2 separate regions of the Homo sapiens genome follow, and region 1 is linked to region 2. The links are contacts of gene promoters, found by promoter capture Hi-C in human tissues and cell types (Jung and others, 2019). All regions are on one chromosome and are shown on one strand. The core of a region is centred on a gene start or on the middle of the fragment in contact, and the rest is flanking DNA. Distances in the headings are between cores, read along the strand shown.

Region 1 (3,962 bases), core at 1,463-3,962, 580 kb after region 2:
TTGCCCCGTCCCTCCATCCCCCATCTAGTAGACTCCAGTTTCTACTGTTGCCATCTTTATGTCCATAATTATCCAATGTTTACCCCCCACTTATAGGTAAGACCATGTGGTATTTGGTTTTCTATTCCTGTGTTAATTCGCTTAGGATAGTGGCTTCCAACTGCATCCATGCTGCTGCAAAGGATATAATTTCATTCTTCTTTATGGCCGCATAGTATTCCATGGTGTATATGTACCACATTCTCTTTATCCAGTCCACCACTGATGGGCACATAGGTTGATTCCATGTCTTTGCTATTGTGAATAGAGCTGCAGTGAATATGTTGAGTGCATGTGTCTTTTTGGAAGAATGATTTATTTTCTTTTGTGTATATATCCAGTAATGGAATTGCTGGGTTGAATGGTGGTTCTGTTTTAAGTTCTTTGAGAAATCTTCAAACTGCTTTCCACAGTGGCTGAACTAATTTACATTCCCACCAACAGTGTATGAGTGTTCCCCTTTCTCCACAGCCTCGCCAGCGTCTGTTGTTTTTTTACTTATTTTTAATAATAGCCATTCTGACTGGTGTGAGATGATATCTCATTGTGGTTTTGATTTGCATTTCTCTGATGACTAGTGATTTGGAACAGTTTTTCATGTTTGTTGGTTTCTTGTACGTCTTCTCTTGAGAAATGAGCAAAATGTCCTGTCTTTTGCTCATTTTTAATAGGGTTATTAGTTTTTTGCTTATTGATTTGTTTAACTTCCTTGAAGATTCAAAGGAACAAAGGATATTAAACCTTTGTCAGATACAGAGTTTGCAAATATTTTCTCCCATTCTGTAGGTTGTCTATTTACTCTGTTCATAATTTCTTTTGCAGTGCAGAAGCTCTTTCATTTAATTAGATCCCAATGAGGCAAGTCTAGGAGGACAGGAATCACATCTTTCTTATTTAGCTTCATACCTGGGAACTTTGCACAGTGCATAGTACATAGTAAACACAATTATTTTGTGAACAAATAAAAAGTTTGGAAAAGTAGGTAAAGAGCAACCTGTGGTAGAACCACAGAGTGCTAAGTCTACTGACTATCCTACACCAAAAAAGTTAGTGAAGAATTTCAAGATGAATAAAAATACAAGAAAACCATGCTTTAAGGAGATTCACCTAGTGTGAGACAGTGGGTGTTTCCATACTCAGCATTCTCTTTACTGCTTGTTGTGGTTTGAACGTTCCCACAAAAGTTCATGTGTTGGAAACTTAGTCCCCAGTGCAGCAATACTATGAGGTGGGACCTTTGGGAGGTAATTGGGTCATGAGGGCTCTACCCTCATGAATGGATTAACCCATTCATGAATCAATGGATTAATGGGTCATAGAGGGAGTGGGTTAGCTATTACAAGAGTGAGTCTGTTATAAGAGCCAGTGTGGGTGTCTCTCATGCAGCCTCTCTCCATGTGAGGCCTGTGCCACTTCATGACTCTGCAGAGCCCCTATCCGCAAGAAGGCTCTCACCAGATGCGGCTCCTAGACCTCAGACTTCTCAGCCTCCAGAACTGTAATATATAAGCTTTATAAATCACTCAGTCTCAGGTATTCTGTTATAGCAACAGAAAACAGACTAAGACACTGCTCTACCTCCTGAACAATAAAAGATAGACAGGTCCCTGATATTCGTAACTTTATTAATAAAGAACTATGATAAAGTTTTACAGTCATTTAGCTAGTGAATCCAGTCACCCACTCATCAAGGCAATGGAGCTTTATAGTTTTACACTAGTCTTTAATAATGCAGTAAAAATTTACAATTTTTTTTAAAATAAAAATATGGTCTTTCTCAAAAAGCCAATCATTAGTGCTTGTCATGAAAGTGAGGAGGTCTTGAGAAAACAATGATTCTTTGAACCAGAAAAATAGAAGTTTTAGATCTATACAAAATGAGGATTAGTTAATTATAGTGGGACCTATAGAGTCTCAGATAACATTCTTCTTGAATGTTTGAGTTCTACTGTATACTAAAAGCATAATGGAGCAACAACAACAAAAACCCATGGAATTAAGGAATCATTTCAAATACTGTCTAGTTGTAAGTAACACTTCAAAATATTTTTGTCAACTCTAAATAAAACAGTAAACAAAAACTTATTTTCAACTCATATCAAAATATTTAGAAAATCTCTACCTTAAACAGAAATATTCTAAAGTCATTAGAAAACACAAAATGGATTTCTTCCTTCAAATGCATAGTGGAATAAAGTAGTATATTTAAAAGTATACCAAGCAACAAAATGGGCATTATTAGCAAAATTTTCTATATTTTGATTCCACCTACTTCATCTCCAAACACTGAAAATAATAAATTAATTATTTGAGAGGAGTAAATCTTAGTAAAAGCTTCTTTCCAATAAAGCAGACACCAGATGGTCTGTAATAACTATGTGTGCTTACCCTACTCTCAAGTTATATAAGTTTTCCACAAATCCCAGTATTTGAGAAAATAGATAGTTTTTCTTAGCTTGTAACCTTTCATTCTAGCATGGTCAGAGGAAAAAAAAATGTAATCAATTTAAAGATAAACATTGGTTTATTTTTCTTCACCAAAAGAAATGTGATTATGGTTCAAGCACATAGAACTCTTAAAATCCAAACAGAGTAATCAAGTATCCTTAAAGATTAAGTCATTTTGTGGTTTTTGGTGGGTAGGGGTGGGGAGGTGGAAAGGGAGACACTTGTATTTGCAAGCCACAGTGCTAAATGCTAAGAATATAGAGATGAATAAAACATAATCTTTGTTCTTGAGGAATTTATAATTAGGCAAGGATTTATAGAAAACCAGAGATGAGGCAAGATGCTTTAGCTGAGTACTGAAAGATTAAAAAAGTCAACAAGATTTTTAAAAAGCTAGGAAAAGCATTTCAGGCAGAATATAAACAGTATGATCAGTATGATCAAAGGCTCTGATCAAGAACTCAGAGGTATAAAACAGGTAAAAATGTATATAGGAAAAAAGACTAATTCTGGAAGACAAAGCATACAGTCAGAAGAGGGAAGAGGGAAGTTGGGCACGTCACTAAGGCAGTAGAAAACGGTCCGAATAAGAGAATGACATGTTCAATGTGCATTACTAATAAACTACTTTAGCTGCAGTGAGGAGAAATGGATCTGAAGAAGGCAAGGCTGGAGGCAAAGTTATTGCTAGTATCAAGGCAAGAGGTCAAGAGGGTCTAAAACAGAAGTGTAGAAATTAGCAGGAAAAAGGTGAGATAGATTGAAAAAATATTTAGGAGATAAAACCTGCCTAAACTTGGTAGTTGATTAGATGCAGGAGATGAGAGAGAAACAGGAAGTTAAGACCACTGCCAGATTTATAGCATGGGAATTGGGAACATGGCAATATCAGAAACAGCAAATAAAAACAAGGAAAGAGGACACATTACAGATGACGTTCAGGGACTGGGGAAGAAGGGAAAAAAGCAAGAAATGTTGAGTTCAAGATGTCTGTGAAGATCCAAATGGCTATGTCTACCTGCCAGATGGATGTATAAATTAGTCAGGGCTAGAGACATAGATTTGAATAATCAGATTTGAAACACCCTTGTAAGGGTAGTTCAGACTCAAAAGTATATAAGATGCCCTAGGAAAATATGTAGAGAAAGAACAATAGGACAAGGATGAAATCCTGGAGAATACCAATTATCACAGAGGTGGAAAGAGAAGGAATATAGAGACATTTGTGAAAGAGCAATTATAAATATATGATAGAGACTGCCAGTGTCCATTAATATTTGTGTGCCTCTCTTCTTCCATAAAAGTACTGCTAAACTACATATCTCAGCCTTTGCAGTTAGGTAAAGCCATTTGAAAATATTTTGTCCAAAGATCTATGGGCAGAAGTAATATATGCACTTCTAGGCCTGGTTTCTGAAACTTCTTCCATGATCCTCTGTGCTGTCTCATTTTTCATGGAAGACTTGGAAGCCACA
Region 2 (4,120 bases), core at 1,284-3,783:
TCACTGTTAGGAAATGCAAATCAAAACCACAGTTGGATGCCACCACATACCTATTAAGATAGCTATTATTAAAAAACAAGCAAAAACAAAACAGAAAATAAGTGTTGGAAAGGATGACCCTTGGGTCCAGCCAACCCTTGCATGTGCTGCTGGATAAAATGGAATCCTGGTGCACTGTTGATGTAAATGTAAAATGATAAAATGGTGCAACTGCTGTGGGAAACAGTATGATTGATTCCTCAGGAAATTAAAAATAATTACCATGCCACCTAGCAATTCGATTTCTGGATGTGTATCCAAAAGAACTGAAAACAGGATCTCAAAGAGATATTTGTACATCCATGTCCATAAGCAGCATTAGTCATGATACCCATAAGGTGGAAGCAACCCAAGTGTCCATCTACATATGAATGGATAAACAAAATGTGATACACGCATGCGCGCTCACACACACACACACACACACACACACACACACACATTATTCAGCCTTAAAAAGGAATGAAATTCTAGTATAAGCTACAACACAGATGAACCTTGAAGACATTATGCTAAGTGAATAAGTCAGTCACAAAAAAGACAAATACTATATGATTCCACAAATATGAAGTACCTAGAGGTGTCAAATTCCTAAAGACAAAGTAGAAGGATGGTTTCCAGTGGACAGTTTTTTCCACTGGCATAGTTTCAGTTTTGTAAGAGATTAAATGGGTATAGAGTTTCAGTTTTGTAAGATAAAAATAGTTTTGTAGGGTGGTTACACAATAATGTGAATGTACTTAACATTACTGTAAACTTAAAAACGGTGAAGATCGTAAATTTCATGTTATGTGTGTTTTAGCACAATTTTTTTAAAAAACAAAACCCCCGACCGGGCACCGTGGCTCACCCCTGTAATTCCAGCACTTTGGGAGGCTGAAGCAGGCAGATCATGAGGTCAGGAGTTGGAGACCAGCCTGGCCAACATGGCTAAACCCCGTCTCTACTACAAATACAGAAATTAGCTGGGCGTGGTGGCACGCACCTGTAATCCCAGCTACTCGGGAGGCTGAGGCAGGAGAATCGCTTGAACCTGGGAGGCAGAGATTGCAGTGAGCCGAAATCAGGCCACTGCACTCCAGCCTGGGCGACAGAGCAAGCCTCTGTCTCAGAAAAGAAAACAACAAAAAAACAAAAACCCATGTTAGAGTTAATGGTAAAATTGAATGGGAGGAGGTGTGAGGAAAAAAATATATTAATATGAAGAAAGTGGAGTCAGGTTACTTTGCACCTTGGAGCATGTTTTAACAGTGGTTGCATTAGTAGGGATCAGGAAGAGGTTTTGGGGCAGAAGATTAGTTCAATTTTTTTTTTTTTAAAGACGGGGTCTCACTGTTACCCAGGCTGGAGCGCAATGGTGTGATCTCAGCTCACTGCAACCTCCACCTCCCGGCCTCAACGATCTTCCCACCTCAGCCTCCCTTAGTTCAATTTTTGAAAAGTCAGTTTTGAAGTGACAATTTTATCATGCAGCAGATATACAGACCAATTAAATGTATTTAATTGGCCTGGCACAGTGACTCACGCCTCTAATCCCAGAGTTTTGGGAGACTGAGGCAGGAGGATCCCTTGAGGCCAGGAGTTCAAGACCACCTTGGGCAACATAGTGAGACCCTGTCTCTACAAAAAAAAATATACATATATATATATATAATATATTTAAAAACTTTAATTGTGAAAATATAATGAAATTAGTAAGTTATTTTCTAATTTACTAATTTCTGGTGGTCCTTGCTAAAGAGTGGCATATCAAGTTTATTTTATTGAACCTGTTTCAGATACTGCTGTTGGGGGTGAGCCTTTACCCACTGTTTGTTTTTGCTAGTTTTTGCTTTTGACTGCAGTCTTAGAAGGAAGCATATAGTAGGAATACAATTGATTTTATTATACATTAAAAAATTAAGTCCCAGAGTCCTATAATTGGGAATATCTTGAATAAAAACTTCATTAGAACAAGGTAAAAATATTGCTGGCCTTGGAATACAATCTAACACACTAGAGAGAGGTTTCTTCTCCAAGCGAGTATTAAAAGATATAATGCAGGTAAATTAGTAATAGCACGACAAATATTAGCTGCTATTATCATCATCAAGTTAAACACAAATGTATCACAAATACACGTACGTAATTCTCCGCAAATGTATATACTAGTCGTCGATACTGGTTCATACAGGTATTTTCATTTTTTACTTAAAAGTATAGCGCTCCTGGGAAAATCACTGATTAGGTTCAGATTAATACATAAAGCAGTAAGAACTTAAAGATAATATAAAAAGAACTGCTTTTAAAGGTTATGTTCTATGTATTGCACTGGGACGTGGAATATAATCCTTTTTACAGGAAAACTGATGCGCCTAGGAACCATTCTCTCGTGCGACTTGGTCTCCAGCCGGATCTCAGTCAGTATAGAACTAGGTTACCGCACACGTTGGCGGGGGTGGGAGGGTGTGAGACTGGCCTCCACACCACGAAAGATCCATCCCGGAAGTGCTTACTGGTCGTCTCCATGCGCCGGTTCCTGGGCGTCTTAGAGCCAAGGCGCGAGGCTCGGAGTGAGAGGTAGAGCTGGAGGGGACCCTAAGCGCCCTCCGCCCGGGACGTGAGCCGCTGCGCCCACCGGGCTAGACCCGGCGCCATCATGCTGCTTCTGCCAAGCGCCGCGGACGGCCGGGGCACCGCCATCACCCACGCTCTGACCTCTGGTAAGTGCCCACCCAACCTCGGTTCCTTCTCACCTCAGCTGCCCCTGCCTCAGTCCTCCGCCTCGGCAACCCTGGGCTCTCTCTACCCTTGACCCTGGCGACTAGCCCCGGGGCCGTATGGGGCCGTGACGAGTGCCTTTTTGCTCCGTGTTTTAAAGTAATCCTACCCTAGATTAGAAGGAAGGAGGGTGAGGGGTGCCTTCCTTTTGCTCCTACCGTTGCTTCCTCCTCTCGCCGCTGCTGACTCATGGATTGGGCTGAGCATTTCGGGACGGAACCCCCCAGCACCCCAGAAAGGTTCTCATAAGCATCTCCTTGCCTACGGTGGAAAGACTACGCGCAGCGAGCACCCCACGTGCCTGGGGTCGTACAAAGCTTTGCTACTGGCGCTCTCTTAAACAACTTTCTCCCTCTCTACGTTTGCTCCGGCCTTGTTTTTTAAATGTCACAACTCAGACACCGCTCCTCATACTCGGTGTTCAAAGACTGTGCTGCTGAAAAGATCCGCGTAGACTTTGAAAGGCAGTTATTACAAGTGAAACTTGTCCTGCTGCTGTAGGTTTTAGTTTTATGGCCCAGGACAGTCATGAGTATTGTAAACTTAAGAGTCTTCAGGTCCAGTGATCTACAGTAATTCCCATAGCCAGTCACATAGGCGCTTGTTGAATGTGATTTTGAACATAACCCATGGCACGTGTTGCATTTATGTGTCTCCGTGTGCCTCTTACAACTAGAGCAAAAGGCTTAAAAGGCAGTGTTCTTAAAAGCCACACACCCATACTACACAGGTAGTACCTTTTTGACAGTGTTTTAATCCTCTCCTGTGTAAGGTGGAGGAAATCTTAAAATAAGTTGTTCAGGGATTTTCCTTTTTTGAATTGCTAGTATACACATGTACAGTGATTTACCCCCACTTCCCAGGAATAGATGATACCTTTACTACAAGTTTGTAATTTCAGAGAGTTTCTGTGGTCTCATTCAAGCTTCCTAGGAACTGAATGAGATAAATAGGTATTGTTCCCATTTTACAGGTGAAGACATCCTGATTCATTTCAGGTCACATAGCCACTGTCAGACCTAGTCTAAAACCCAGAGTGTCTGGTTTCAGATTGAGAGCTTGTTCCACTACAGCTTAGCTGCATTAGTAAATTCCCATTTGCTGCTTGGAAAATTGCTTTCAGGACAAATTCTTGTTAGTGAATTCTTAAAATTTTTAAGAGCTATATTCAAGATTTTAATAATTAAGACAGTTTGAGTTGTCTGGGTGCGGTGGCTCACGTCTATAATCCCAGCACTTTGGGAGGCCGAGGCAGGTGGATCACCTGAGGTCAGCAGTTCGAGACCAGCCTGGCTAACAGGGTGAAACCCTGTCTCTACTA

What was found. The method cuts DNA at HindIII sites, captures the fragments that hold promoters and counts their contacts. A contact is called where the count stands out against the background at its distance.
Region 1: a fragment that was not itself captured here is called in contact with the fragment with the promoter of DNAJC2 in region 2 in 1 of the 25 tissues and cell types used here (lymphoblastoid cells).

What each region holds. Positions count from the first base shown.
Region 1 is chr7:102,767,271-102,771,232 of GRCh38, reverse strand. All of the region lies in intron 4 of FAM185A (family with sequence similarity 185 member A), which reads right to left. Among named protein-coding and RNA genes, the nearest start is that of FAM185A, 20 kb to the right of the region's middle. The HindIII fragment of the contact is 4,026 bases long and covers 700-3,962 here.
Region 2 is chr7:103,343,180-103,347,299 of GRCh38, reverse strand. It overlaps DNAJC2 (DnaJ heat shock protein family (Hsp40) member C2), which reads left to right and starts at 2,533. Exons shown (of 17, transcript NM_014377.3): 1 at 2,533-2,741. The coding sequence starts at 2,678. It also overlaps a transcript of PMPCB not described here. RefSeq lists an enhancer at 2,351-2,590. The HindIII fragment of the contact is 6,679 bases long and covers 1-3,420 here.